Regions from separate parts of the Homo sapiens genome. Here region 2 is linked to region 1. The links are contacts of gene promoters, found by promoter capture Hi-C in blood cells and fetal thymus (Javierre and others, 2016). All regions are on one chromosome and are shown on one strand. The core of a region is centred on a gene start or on the middle of the fragment in contact, and the rest is flanking DNA. Distances in the headings are between cores, read along the strand shown. Region 1 holds the start of FCRL5 (Fc receptor like 5). Region 2 has its middle 6.5 kb from the start of SMIM42.

Evidence for each region. Contacts are between HindIII fragments. The CHiCAGO score rates a contact against its expected background, and 5 or more counts as called.
Region 2: a fragment that was not itself captured here is called in contact with the fragment with the promoter of FCRL5 in region 1 in 4 of 17 cell types (activated CD4 T cells, non-activated CD4 T cells, total CD4 T cells and 1 more); the score reaches 7.1 in activated CD4 T cells.

What each region holds. Positions count from the first base shown.
Region 1 is chr1:157,548,375-157,556,007 of GRCh38, forward strand. FCRL5 (Fc receptor like 5) reads right to left here and starts at 4,141. Exons shown (of 17, transcript NM_031281.3): 1 at 3,958-4,141; 2 at 1,186-1,206. The coding sequence starts at 3,988. The HindIII fragment of the contact is 25,493 bases long and covers 1-7,633 here.
Region 2 is chr1:158,117,981-158,125,613 of GRCh38, forward strand. No RefSeq gene overlaps it. Among named protein-coding and RNA genes, the nearest start is that of SMIM42, 6.5 kb to the right of the region's middle. RefSeq lists a silencer at 7,100-7,269. The HindIII fragment of the contact is 6,638 bases long and covers 555-7,192 here.

The DNA of each region.
Region 1 (7,633 bases), core at 2,891-5,390:
CAAGGACTTCATGTCTAAAACACCAAAAGCAATGGCAACAAAAGCCAAAATTGACAAATGGGATCTAATTAAACTAAAGAACTTCTGCACAGCAAAAGAAACTACCATCAGAGTGAACAGGCAACCTACAGAATGGGAGAAAAGTTTTGCAATCTACTCATTTGACAAAGGGCTAATATCCAGAATCTACAATGAACTCAAACAAATTTACAAGAAAAATTCAAACAACCCCATCAAAAAGTGGGTGAAGGATATGAACAGACACTTCTCAAAAGAAGACATTTATGCAGCCAAAAGACACATGAGAAAATGCTCATCATCACTGGCCATCAGAGAAATGCAAATCAAAACCACAATGAGATACCATATCACACCAGTTAGAATGGCAATTATTAAAAAGTCAGGAAACAACAGGTGCTGGAGAGGATGTGGAGAAATAGGAACACTTTTACACTGTTGGTGGGAGTGTAAACTAGTTCAACCATTGTGGAAGTCAGTGTGGCGATTCCTCAGGGATCTAGAAGCAGAAATACCATTTGACCCAGCCATCCCATTACCAGGTATATAACCAATGGACTACAAATCATGCTGCTATAAAGGCACATGCACACGTATGTTTACTGCGGCACTATTCACAGTAGCAAAGACTTGGAACCAACCCAAATGTCCAACAATGATAGACTGGATCAAGGAAATGTGGCACATATACACCATGGAATACTATGCAGCCATAAAAAATGATGAGTTCATGTCCTTTGTAGGGACATGGATGAAGCTGGAAACTGTCATTCTCAGCAAACTATTGCAAGGACAAAAAACCAAACACCGCATGTTCTCACTCATAGGTGGGAATTGAACAATGAGAACACTTGGACACAGGAAGGGGAACATCACACTCCAGGGCCTGTTGTGGGGTGGGGGGAGGGGGGAGGGATAGCATTAGGAGATATACCTAATGTTAAATGACGAGTTAGTGGGTGCAGCGCACCAACATGGCACATGTATACATATATAACAAACCTGCACGTTGTGCACATGTACCCTAAAACTTAAAGTATAATAAAAAAAAGGAAAGAAAACAGGAGATATTGGAGATCTCAGGCAGCCATCACAAATGTTTTCTATTTATTAGGAAGAGACACTCTTAACCAGAGACGCTGAAGAGCCAAAGACAGGAGAACTCACCAAACTGTCCACTGACAGGAGCTGCAAAAAAATAAGAGCCAGAGATGAGCACAGAACCATGATTATTTTGTTTTAAGAAGATAATTCCCTTTTTTACCCATGCATGTATTACTTGTCCCTTTAAAAAATTCATTTAAAAACTCTAATAATTATTCATCAAATGTATATATATACACATAAATATACATATATATACATATATATATGGCATGGTATTTGGACTTCTACAATGAATTTTAAAAATGGTATCTGCCATCAAGAAGTTGACTAGTGGAAAAACAGAAACACGATTTAAAATAATATAACACAGGGTGTAAGTGCAATAACAGAAATACACATGGGGTATGTTGGGGGCAGAAGGGCCACTAGCCCAGTGTGTAGGATATATGTGTGTGTGTAGAGTGTGTGTTTGTGTGTACATGTGTTGAACAGGATGGGTGGATCCTTGAAGGTACCTGAAGGAGATGATACTTCACAAAACTGTGAGTGAGAACATGAGTCTGCAGGTGGATGTTAGCATTTGTGTGTGGTAAGAGGCGATTTCTACCTTTCAAGGTAGAAAGGGCACAGAAGTGGAGAAATGACATTGGTGCTCAGGAACTGGGAGTGTTGGGGGAAATAAGACCAGAGAAGCATGCAGGGCCTGAGTAAGTGGTTCTAATTTTATTATAAAAGTGATAAGGAGTCATGGAATGGTTTCAAGGAGGAGATTGACAAGGTTAGAATTTCAGACTTTGATGGAGCACTCTGTCAGTGGACAGAATTTAATGGGACAATATGAAGCAGGGAGACTGATTAGAAGGCAGGGCAAGGAAATGGACATGAATTAAGCCTCCCTTGGGCACCAGACTCCAGGCTATACTCTTTTCATGAGATCATTGAATCCAAGGGCTCATTATCATCATGCCTAATTTTTAAACAATCAACTGATGCTCAGATTATTTAGACCTGATGCTCAGCCCAAGAGATGGTAATGTGTAATTTTTGTCAGAGTATTTATCCAAATTATCTTCATTATCTGCTTGTTTATTTTCCCTTCTCTATAATGCAAGCTCTATGAGACCTAGGACTTTCCTTATGTTCACCATATATCCTCCAGGACCTATAACGGTGAATGGCATATAAAAGATATTCCTTTAATGTTCACTAAATATATTTGTGTTGTATAATGAATTAATTAAAGAACTAGGTTAATAATATAGGAATAGAAGGATAGAGATTTGAGAAATGGGTAATGAAGAGAGAGAGGACACAAAACTGGCAGGTTTATCAATTGAGTAGGTATTCTGCATATGGGTTGATTTATTTATTCAACAGATTTTTGGAATGCCAATCATACTCCAGAGCAAGGCAATAGAAATCCAGGAGTGTGTGAGAGACAAATCATCCCTGTCCACATGAGGCTATTGGAGACTTATCCAAACTTAAGTGTTTTACTGAGAACAACAAATTATTCACCATTCACCTGAATATTTTGGCTTCCTTCATCTTTGCATTGTTTTAAATGAAGCTAATATTTTTGTGAGTGGTTTCTATATGGTCTGCATTTACGTAGGTTATTTCATATAACCATGTCAATAATCCTGTGAGGTAAGCACTAGGATTAACTGCATTTTGTAGACCAGGAATCTGGTAGCCAGTAGGTGGCAAGATGAAGTTTGAACCTAGATCCTGTTTGACCCCAGAGCCCATGTTATAAACTTTGCCCTCTCATGCTCAGGACCTGGCCATTACCCACATTGTGTGGGGCCACACTGAGATGTATTCCTACTTCAGGAATTATAGTCCATGCACCTTCCAACTGTGAGGTCCTCTTTTCTTATATCACGCCTGCTCCATTTCTGCTCCTCTAGCTCCTACTCACCTCTAAGTTTCATGAAGTCTTTACTAGCTATTTTGAATACAGTTTATTATCTGCCTACAGCATTCATTGGTAACTTTGCCTGGACAATTATTTAACTGGGAGCTTGTTGCATAGCTGCTTGAAAGTACATTGGCCTTGCTGGGAGCCCTTCTATGTCATGACTTTCCAGAACATAGACGTAGTGTCTCCTATGGACTCTAATTGCTCAGCACCTGTGCATAGATATTACTAAACACATTTGCTGAACAAATAAATAAACATATTTAATTATAATATTTAACCTTTAGTAAAAATCAACCAGTTCGCACATATGAGTTGATAGAGACTTACGTACACCCACAGGGACAAAGAGAAAGTCATATGCTTTAGATTTATCCTTGCTTTGTCCACCTACGCCTCTGCGACCTCCTCCACCCCATGTTCTTAATCAGCCAATTGCTGCAGTGGTTTGCAATTATGTACAAGAGAAAGACCTGTCTTTCCCGTTAGAAACCTTGCCTCTTATGCTGGGGACCAGGATCTGGCCTTGTCATACAAGGAATAAATACATCTCCTCTGCAGAGAGGAGAGTGGGCTCTTCTATGAGTAAGACAATATGAACAAACAAACATGAAACATTCTCTGGACTTTAAGAAGTACTTTTTAAAGAAAAAAATAAATGAAATTTTAATTGTTGTGGTTATTGTGGTTTCCTACTCTGTAAGATTGAAAATTCCTTCCAGCTGTGGCCATTTTCTTCAGCCTCAAGAGAAAGCCCTGAGCTACAGAGTAAAGTTCAAAAATACAGTCTCCTAATGTAGGAGAGAGTCTCTCAGCAGGGGCTGAGCCCCAAGAAAGGACCAGGCCTGCGGTGGAGAGAGAAGCTGTCCCGATCCCACCCAGGGCCCATGGTGAGCCCTTTTACTCACCCAGGACCAGTAATATCACCCACAGCAGCATGAAGACCTGGACCACCAAGGGCTGAGATCAAAAGAGAAGTTTCCTCAATTCCAAAACAGGTTTGGACTTGATCTTACAGTCAGGACACTGCACACCAGCTCCAAGGAGCACATCTGAGAAGCTGTGCTCTCAAAAAGAGCAGAATGCATTAGTGAATTGAAAAAAGGAAGTGGGAGTACCCGTCTTCAGCTGCTAATCACAGTTTCCTACCCGATGATCAAAGAAAAAAAAAAGTTAAGGTTTTAAAAAATCAAATACCCTTGACCCTACATTTTTGCTATTGGGAAATTACCCTGAAGGAAGTATCTGAAGAGAGTACTATAAGAACGTTTATTGTAGCATTCATTATTGCCTAAACACTGGAAACAAAACAAAAAACCATGATATGGGGACTGTTTAAGAATATTCTGATTCATCCGTATGGTGACAAGCAATCATTAAAGAATAAGGTAAATCTGAACATGCCAAGAAGGGAAGACCACCTTGTTTGATGTGAAGAGAATAAAAGTGAGATATAGATTGGTTTTGTAGTATTATCCCATTGGGTAAATATAAAAAATAGGATATATGTGTACATCAACTCTTTTAAGTATACTTTCTTCTTTTCCTGGAAAGTACACACAAAAATATTGATTATGTTTGAGGAGCAATAGGTGGGAAGAACACAATTTATTTTATGTATTTCTGTACCGTTTGATTTTTTAAAAAATTACCAGGTGAATGTATAGCTCTTATGATTTTCTAAAAGTCAAGTTTCCATCCTGGTATACTGGTCAACAGAGGTTCCTAAGACATTAGCTGCCACGAGGAGTGCCAGTTTCTTTCTTTCAAATATTTTCTCACCCTTTCTCTCTGGGCCCATACCTTGGTCTTCCTAAGGGGGCATTTAATTTTATATCTACAAATGCACATCACCTTAGGTATATTATGTCACATCTGACCCACTGCACCCTGAGGCAAGAAAACCATACAGGGGTTACAGGGGTGAATAGAGATTAAGAGGAGAACTTCAAAGGGAACACAGAATCTTTACCTACTTTTGGTGCTAAAACAAATAGTGCTGCTATGAACATTCTTGTATACATTTATTGGGGCATATGCGCACATAATTCTGTTGGGTATATATCTGGGAGTGGAAGTCCTGGCTCATAAGGTATGCATATATTCAGTTTAGGAAGTATTACCAAATTATTTTCCAAAGTGGTTGTGCCAATTCCCACCACACCCACCAACCAATGTATGAGAGTTATCATTGTTCTAAAATTCTTGCTGATATTGGTATTGTCATCTAGTAAAATCTGGCCGTTCTGCTAGAATTATCTCAATGTGGTTTTAATTTGTATGTCTCTGGTGAATTTGAGAATGAGCATTTTTTCATAGTCTAATTGGTGATGTAGATATCCTTTTTATGTGCAATCTCTGTTCAAATATTTCCTCATTTTTCTCTTAACTTTCAGTCTTTCTTTTCCTGTTTTGTAGTTATTTTAAACCCTGAATATAAACCTTTTGTTGGATATATGTATTGCAAATGTCTTCCTTCAATCTGTGGCTTGCTTCTTTGCTCATTGATAGTGCCTTTTGATGAACAACCATTCTAACTTTGACATAGTCCAGTTTATCAGTCTTCTCCTTTGTGGTTAGAGATTTTTGCATCCCTTCTAAGAAAGTTAGTCTACTCCAAGATCATAAAGATACTCTCCCAGGTTATCTTCTAGAAACTTTATTTTTTACCATTTATTTTATATTTATAAGAGCATTGCAATTGATTTTTGTGTACAGTTTGAGTGTTTATATTCACTTTTAACTTAAATACAGATAATTTATCCTGCCCTATTTATTGAAAGTTGATTTTTTCCACAGTACAGTGCAATTTCACCTTTGTTATAAAACAAAAAGCCATGTAGGTCTATTTTTGGAAACTCCTTTCTTGTCCATTAGTCTATTTTGTCTATCCTCATGCCAATACCACACTCTTCTAATTATTGTGGCTTTATAATAACTCTTATTAACTGATAGTTTAAGTCATAAAATGCTGTTCTTCTTCAAAATTGTTATGGCTATTTTTGGCTTTTTGAATTTTTCTATACATTTAAAAATCACCTTGTCAATTCCTGTCCCCTCTCTCCCCAAAAGCCTAGTAGATTTTTAATAACTGGGATTGCATTGGATTTATAAGTTAATTTGTATAAATTAGAAAAGATTTAGTCTCCCAATCCATAAACATACAATATCCCCTCATTTATTTAGGTTAACTTGACATTCTTTCAGTAATTTTCTATAGCTTTGCCTCTGGAAAGTATATCTTTTGGTAGGTTTATCCTTAGGTTATTGATATGTTTTTTATGATATTGTAAGTGACATCATTAGATTTTTTTCTAAATGTATATTGGTATATAGAAATATAATACTTTTTTGTTTTACTGACCATTATTTTTATTTTTTTGAGACAGAGTTTTGCTCTTGTCCCCCAGGCTGGAGTGCACTGGTGCGATCTTGGCTCATTGCAACCTCCACCTCCCAGGTTCAAGCGATTCTCCTGCCTTAGCGTCCCAAGTAGCTGGGATTATAGGTGTCTGCCACCATGCCCAGCTAATTTTTGTATTTTTAGTAGAGATGAGGTTTCACCATGTTGGCCAGGCTGGTCTCAAACTCCTGACCTCAAGTTATCTGCCCGCCTTGGCCTCCAAAAGTGCTAGGATTACAAGCGTGAGCCACCATGCCCGGCCTTACTGACCTTTTAATATCTACTAAAATTGCGGAATTTACTTATTAATTTTAATAGTTTATCTTTAGGTTATTTTAGATTTCATGCAAACACAATCATATAATGATAGTTTTATTCATTATTTTTAATACTTAAACTTCCTTTTCTCTCACTTATTGCACTGACTAGGAACTCAAACATGATACTAAAGAGAAGTGGTAATATCAGGTGTCCTGTCTTAGTCTCACAGAAAAAGCTCTTAATATTTCAATATTAAATATAATATTTTCTGTAATTTTTTTTGGTGAATACTATGTATCAGATTAAATACCTTTCCTTATATTTCTAATTTGCTAAGAAATTTTCCTTTTTTCCTAAATAATGGATGCTGTTTCAGTAAATACCTTTATTGCCTCTATTAATATGATCATATGATTATTTACTTTTATTGTTAATATGATGAATTACATGGATGATTATAAATGTAAAATCAACTGTGCATTCCAACTTGGCCATGATGTGTTATCTTTTTTATATATTCTTGAATTTGACTTATAAATTTGCTGTGCTTTTTAGCATTTGTGTTCATGAGGAAGATGGACCAATTTTCTTTCTTGATGAATTTTAGTAACAAAATTATATTGGTCTCATAAGCAAGCTCCTTCTTTTTCTATTTTCGTGAAGAGTTTGTGTACGACTGATGTTATTTCTTCCTTAAATGTTTGGAAGATTTTACTGGTAAAGGTACTTACTTAGGCTTATGAAAAAATGCTCACCATCACTGGCCATCAGAGAAATGCAAATCAAAACCACAATGAGATATCATCTCACACCAGTTAGAATGGCAATCATTAAAAAGTCAGGAAACAACACGTGCTGGAGAGGATGTGGAGAAATAGGAACACTTTTACACTGTTGGTGGGAGTGTAAACTAGTTCAAC
Region 2 (7,633 bases), core at 2,624-5,123, 570 kb after region 1:
TGCCGGGGCAGCGCAGCCCTGAGTGGTCTGTTTCTGGTTCTGGCTTCCCACAAAGCAAACAATTTTGAACCAGGCACCAGCGCCCCCTGCATCTGTCATCCTTTAAGGGAGCCACTACTCAGTCCTGAGAAGTGTTTGTGCCTCAGTTAGAGCTCGCCCCAGTTCTTCCCGGCTCCTTAGTCTGCCCCAGCTTGCTGCCAGCTTGGCCCAGCCCCTCCCCTCTCGCAGTTCAGCACCCGCTGCCTTCCATATCCCCCACCCCCAGCCCCAACACACGCAGTCTGGAGGTTGCCATACTAGGAGAAGGGTAAGGCAGGGCACAATTTGTCTTCGTGTAATTATCTGTCAGGTACAGCTTGTGAAACCTCAGCCACCTCCCTGCAACCATGCAGGAAAATAAATTACACACGAGCACGCAGAGACACGGCGGCACCATCTTCCCCTGGGCCCCCAGCGAGCTTGGGGGAAAAAATTCTGCTCAGCCGAGCCCAGGGTGCTGATACCTGCACTGGAGTCGGCCACCCATCTTCCCCTCTTCGAGACCCTGCCGCTGAAGCTTTCATCTTTCAGCGTGTTCCTTGCTGTGGAGGAGGGGAAGTCCATCTGGCTTCTAAGAAGTCATGAATGCCCAGAGAGAAAGAAAACAAACCCTTGGCTATTTCTGATTAGAGTTGTTGGAGGTGGGAGAGAGGCCTTAGGATTGCCTATAATTTCTAAAATGGACTGTAATGCAGCTACACATGCAATATACTGAGTCCCTGCTCTGTGATAGTGATAGTGATGACAGCCACTTTTTAGGAGCCAGCCTGTGGGTCCCAGGCACCACGCTGAGCGCTTTACACATGCTTTCTTGTTGGACCCACACAATAAAACCCTGTGGAATGGATGTTTATCCTCATTGTGGTGATGAGGACTTGGAGGCTCAGAGACGTCGACTGACTTGCTCCCAGTCACACAGCTGGTTGTACCTAACTCGCAGTCCAATTTTTCACCATTAGCAGATGGGGCTCTATGGGGGAGTGGTGGGGGGTGGAGGTGGTGGTGAATGGGAGGCGGGGCCCTTGACTGCAGAGTGGGAGGGGGTGGGCTGGGGTAGCTGTTGCTCACTTCCTTGTGAGCTTCAGTTTCTTCTCTTGAGATCTTTTTGGATCTTTGTGAGAATTAAACGAAATAACAACTCTTGGTACTTATTGGAGCTCAATAAATTAGGTGACTCATCCTTCAGACCTCCGTTGCCCCACTGCACAGAGAGGAGCTTGGTGCTGGGAGCTTGGTTGGTCCCTGAGGACTCAGAGGAGCATTTTGGGTTAGGGGGTCCTGACTTTTTCTGTGTCCAGGCCCCCTTTGGCAGTCTGGTGAAGCCTGTGGACTCCTTACAGTGTTTCCAAATACAGAAGCTGAAATATATAGGATTACAAAGGAAGCCAATCTTACTGAAATACGTTATTGAAAGCATCAAAAAACAAATTTGTGACATAGTAATCTACTGCCTTCTTTAATAATGCATTCAATAACCAGATCTAGTGGCAGACCTAATAACTACTATAATTTCCAAGTTGTGATGAGTATAAACAATATTTCAAGAGACTACAACAACTGATAGAATATGGAAACATTTTGATTTCTATTAGTGACAGAGACACAGGTATTGCTAATACTATTGGGGCTTGTAATAAACATCTACTAAGTTCACTCAGAGGTTAGTGAAAATCTAGTCATCCTCCCATCCAAGTACTAAGAACCCTCAAAACGTATCCATGGATCCCAGGTTAAGAGTAGAAGTAACTGGTTGAAATCCATGTTAATGTAAATTTTTAAAGTACAAGCTAGAGGTATTTTTTAAAGGAATAGATAATTGGGGAGATCAAGTAAAGCCTTTCTTCAGACAGAGGGGATTTGACAGTATGAGTGCCTACCTTTTGCTTTGTTCTACCCCAAAGAGATTTTTGGAATATACAGGGCATTTTTATGGACCTGGGACCATTTTTATGGACCAGGCTGGTGAACTGTTCAAGAGCCCTAAGGGGTAAGCATTGGAAGCAGGGCTCAAACCCTTCAGTGCCCCTGACCCCGATCCTCTGTGAGCTCTGCCTCCCTGGGCAGGGTGTCTCAGGTCCCCCTCTTCCTCTGCCCACACGGTTGAGCCCTGCTCCCCTACTCCTGCACGCTGTGCGGTTCCTCCTGTGTGGCTCACTGTGACACAGCTGTGAGGAAACCTTGCTTGAGATATTTGTCTGGGTGGCAGTGGGGAGCCAGCCTCAGAGGAGCTGTGGCAGCCCCTTCAAGCTGCAGAGAAAGGCAGGGTTACCATTCATTTGGGACCAAAAAAACAGTGGCATTTACTGGGGATGAGGGAGTGGGGGTCAGAGGCCCTCTTGGTTCTCCTCTGGCAGATTGGGTAAATTGGGTTGAACAAAGCCACTCCCGCAGTTCAGCACCTGCTGCCTTCCAGCTGTGCTTCCAGTGACCAGAGCTGCCCACATGATCTCACTGGGAATTGAGGTGGTGTCTTCTGGGGTCAGACAGTGGAAAGAATGCAAACCTTAGACTCAGCAGATCTGGCTGCACCTCTGACTTGCTTTGAAACCTTCAGCAGGTTACTTTACTTCTCTCAGCCTGTTCTTGTAGAAAGAAGACTAGCTTCCTCTCAGTATTCTTAGGAGGACTTGGGATAATGTAGGTAAAATCATTTTTAAACTCTAAAGTGTTAAATAGGCACTCATTAACAGGAAAGTACAATTTTTCCCAAATCACATTTGTATGGCTGTCTTCTAGAACCATTTCACTCAGATTGAGCATTAATTGAATCAAGGAGACCAACTAAACTCCAAGGAACATGCTCTTGCTAAATCACTGCTCCTTTCTGAACCCAAGCCAGGCATATTGTTTTTTCTGCATATATTAAAAAGGATCTACCGATGTATGAAAAGGATGTAACTATTTAGCTTTTGCTGCCTGAGACAGTTACAGTAAGAAATACTGAAGGGCACTTTAGACTTCACAAAGATCCTTTCTGTCTCTTTCCTTAGCTCCTTACAATCCTATGAGATGTGTGTATTTCTTTTTTCCTCTCCATTTTACACAGGAGGAAACTGAAGCTCACTTACACAGGGAATTAGTGACCAGGTCAGTCTAGGAGTCCATCTTCTGACTCCTTCCAGTATCTAATTAGAATTAAGACAGACTCATTCGGCTGGGGGGCGTTGGCTCATGCCTGTAATCCCAGCACTTTGGGAGGCCGAGGCGGGTGGATCACTTGAGGTTAGGAGTTTGAGACCAGCCTGGCCAACATGGTGAAACCCTGTCTCTACCAAAAATGCCAAAAATTAGCCTGGCATGGTAGCACATGCCTGTAATCCCAGCTACTCAAGAGTCTGAGGCAGGAGAATCGCTTGAACCCGGGAGGTAAATGTTGCAGTGAGCCGAGATCGCACCACTGCACTTCAGCCTGGGCAACAGAACGAGACTCCATCTCAAAAAAAAAAAAAAAAAAAAAAAAAAGACAGCCTCATTCGGGAGATTCGGGGGGTGGAGGTAGCAGTGTTTAAAAAAAAAAAAGCCTAGGCAGGCATTACAATATGAAAATCATTCTTGCTTAAAGGAAGACTGGTAACTGGGACTCTGCATGGATGTGTCCCCTATTCCCCTATTCTTGGTGTTTATCATCCCCATGGCCGGGTCAGCTGCCCCTGTTTACTCATGGTTGGAAAATGTCACAGCTCCTAAAACAGCTGTTTAAGGGACACATCATCTGAAGCGACTTTTCCTGTTCTGGAAGTGCCCATTTTAAGAGCTTAATTTGGTTTTTGTCCTGAGCCCACTCTGCTGTTCTATTTGTGTGGGGTTTCTGCCCTCAGGTGGTGAGAGAGGTGAGCTACAGGTGCGCTAACAGGTTCTGGGAACTCAGCTGTTGCCGATGGGCACCTTACTGTGATGTGTCTAGTTGGACTTGTCACTCACTGTGTGGTGCTCTTGACACAGGGGTCTTCCCCAGGTACAGATGGGACCTTGTGTACCCAGATCTTGGCTTCCGGCAGGAAAGCATCTTTGTACTCCACAAAGTTTTGTTTCCCAGACACTAGATCTTGACTGAATGCCAGAGAAAGCCAAGAACTGCTCTGAGCTGATGTTGGAGAAAGCAGTGTTTCAAAAACCTTGCCTAGGCATTTTATATGAGGTGTCTTTTTAAAGCCTCAACTATCCTGTGAAGTAAGTGTTGTGTCCATTTTACAGATAGAGATGGATAAGATAAGGAAATTTAAACTAAAGAGTTTAAATCAGTGGTTCTCAAACTTTTTAAGTCTGCCTTTACAATCTTAAAAATTATGGAGGATCCCAGGCCAGGCGTGGTGGCTTACGCCTGTAATCACAGCACTTTGGGAGGCTGGGCGGGTGGATCATGAGGTCAGGAGTTCGAGACCAGCCTGTCCAATATGGTGAAACCTCGTCTCTACTAAAAAATACAAAAATTAGCCAGGCGTGGTGGCACGCACCTGTGGTCCCAGCTACTTGGGAGGCTGAGGCAGGAGAATCACTTGAACCCAGGAGGCAGAGGTTGCAGTGAGCTGAGATCACGCCACTGCACTCCAGCCTGGGCAACAGAGTGATACTCCATCTCAAAAAAAAAAAAAAAAATTATGGAGGACCCCAAGGAACTTCAGTTTGTTAGAAACTAACACTAAACTTTTAAAAAATACTTATTTTATGTAAAAATAACTATGATAAACTTATTATATATTAACAGAAATAACATATTTGGAAAGAAGAATAACAGTGTTTTACATGTTTGCAAATCTCTTTAAAATGCAACATGTAGTCTTTCAAAAGCTCTTCTGTACACTCATGAAAGAGAGTGAAAAACATATTAATATTTTTATTAAAATAGTTTCCATTTCATGGATCCCTTGAAAGGGTCTTGGGGTATCCTTAGGGATCCCAGAACCATACATTGAGAACCACTGGCTTAGGTAATTTGCTGTGGATGCACAGCTGGTATGAATGAAGGGTGGAGCCAGCATTCCACTCCCAGTTTCTCTGAAACACACCTCCACACTCAGGCCTCCCCCACTTACCCCTGGGCACCAGAGGCCTGTGTAAAGTGAGAGTGAAGTTCCGGGTGGGCCAAGGAGCTTCTGGCTCTGGCACTCCATGAGTCTGTCTGGATGATGGCAGCTCTGGGCAGTGCTGATTCTATGGCTGCTGCCCCTGCCCACTTAGGGAATCCACAGTTTTTGAGCTTCAGTGGGCTGGAACAGTTAGAGAGCATCTCTCAATCGCTTGAGAAGACAGCTCTGTGACTCCCAAACTTTTCTAGGTTTCTCACCCCACCCCCAATTTGTGGCATCACCTGTTTCAGCTACTGACCCAGCCAGCTGATGCTCCAAGTTAGGAAGATGGGAGTCAGCAAAGGTCCTTATTGGTATCGCCTGCTTTTTGACAAAGTTCTGAAGATGGACCCCTTTGAATTCAACTTCTACCTCTCCACACACACTCTTAAAAAACTGTTGAACAGGCTGGGCGCCATGTCTCATTCTTGTAATCCCAGCACTTTGGGGGACAAGGTGGGTGGATCTCCTGAGATCAGGAGTTCAAGACCAGCCTGGCCAACATGGCAAAACCCCATCTGTACTAAAAATACAAAAATTAACCAGGCGTTTTGGTGCACGCCTGTAATCCCAGCTACTTGGGAGGCTGAGGCATTAGAATCACTGGAACCCAGGAGGCGGAGGTTGCGTGAGCCCAGATGGCACCACTGTACTCCAGCCCGGGCAACAGAGTGAGACTCTGTCTCAAAAAACAAAAACAAAACAAAACAAAAAACAAAAAACTGAGCAGAGAAATATTTACAAAAGGGCAGTTCAGGTGGAAAATATAAACAGGCAAAGTCAGAGAAACAGGAAAGAACCAGGAACTATGGAACATTTTATGATAAAACTATAGCATTTTAACTTATCTTCTTGACTTAATTTCTCCCTATTTCTTACCAAAGGGTAATTAGGGAACTTTGGAAAGTTTTTGATAAAACTTTGGAAACCTTTATGATAAAACTATAGCATTGTAGCCTATCTTCTTAATTTTTCCCTATTCCTATTCATCAACCATGCCAGATTAACCTTGAGTGTTTATTTCATGTGTCACTTTCCTTCCCTGGCTCCCTCTAGCTTGAAATTGAACACCTTAGCCTGATATTCAAGGTCTCTACCATAGGCGAGTGCTATTTTCTCACCTGACTCCCCATTGTTTCCCTGCATGCGTCATGCAGCTGGCTCACTGCCCCCCTGTCATGCCTCATGAATTCCCTTCCACTCTTAAGTCTATGCTAGCTGTTTCCCTAACATTGCAGCTGCTTCTGGATGCTTTCCCTAGCCCACAAGGACCCTTCAGGCTTTAGAATGCCAACACCCCATCCTTGGCCTGTCTCAGAAACCACCTGTGGCTGCTGTTAGTCCAAGGGAAGCCCTTAGCCACATCTGGAACTAAAGCTCCTCAAAGAAGGGATTAACATCTCATTGCTCTTCACCACCTTCTCTCTGCCACCCATTGCTCACTGGCTGCTTTATGATGGTCAGTGCTTGTTGACTTGATGCCTACAGGTGCAGGAGCTGGAGCTGCCGACAGACCTCTTGGAGGGTGTTGGAGAAAAGCCATAGGAGGTAAGGGAGGCAGACACAAGGCACCCCTGGCAGAGCATCTCCCTAAAGAGAATACTATAAATTAATGCCAGCAGCATTTTAGAGCAAAATGATTTCTGATAGAGAAAGAAGAGCTTCCTCGAAGCTGAAAATGTCTTATTCCATGATGAATGCAGGGAGCAGCATGGGAGAGGAAAAGAATTCAGGCTCTGCTATGAGCCTTTGAACAGATAACCAGCCTCCCTGATGCTCCGAGCCTCAATTTTCCTTGTATAGGAGGGATAATGCCCTTTTCACAGCATAGCTAGGTAGCAAAAAGATACCATATGTTAAGAACCAGTGTATAATTGATGCTCAATATATAACACATGTTTTTAAAATTCTGAAATTTCCAACCCTGGAGAACTTCTGGAAAAGAGATTCCCATTATTGTGGATGACTTGATTATAGGCCTTTATGGAGGTGGAGGGAGGGACTGACTATCCAGCTGAGTCCCTTTGCCTTTGCGGGTGCTACAAGGACCAGGTTTGCTGATGTTTTGCTGCCATCTGATGGCCATAAGCTTACAGTGCAGCCTGGCCGGTTTGTCCTTAAGTCTGAATAATAGAAACAGAAGAATGTAGGCGGGGCTTGAGGAGTTTGGGGAGTAACTAAATCCTGGAGGATGGAAGGAAATGGCTTTGAGTTCCATGGGAGGAGGGGAACTTTGAGTCTCTGGGAAGTGTGAAACAATCTGGGCCAGGAGTCTTTTTTTTTGTTTTGTTTTTGTTTTTGTTTGAGACGGAGTCTTGCTCTGTTGCCAGGCTGGAGTGCAGCGGTGCGATTTCGGCTCACTGCAACCTCCGCCTCCCGGGTTCAAGAGATTCTCCTGCCTCAGCCTCCAGAGTAGCTGGGATTACAGGCATGCACCACCACGCCCAGCTAATTTTTGTATTTTTAGTAGAGACTGGGTTTCACCATGTTGGCCAGGATGGTCTCAATCTCCTGACCTCATGATCCAC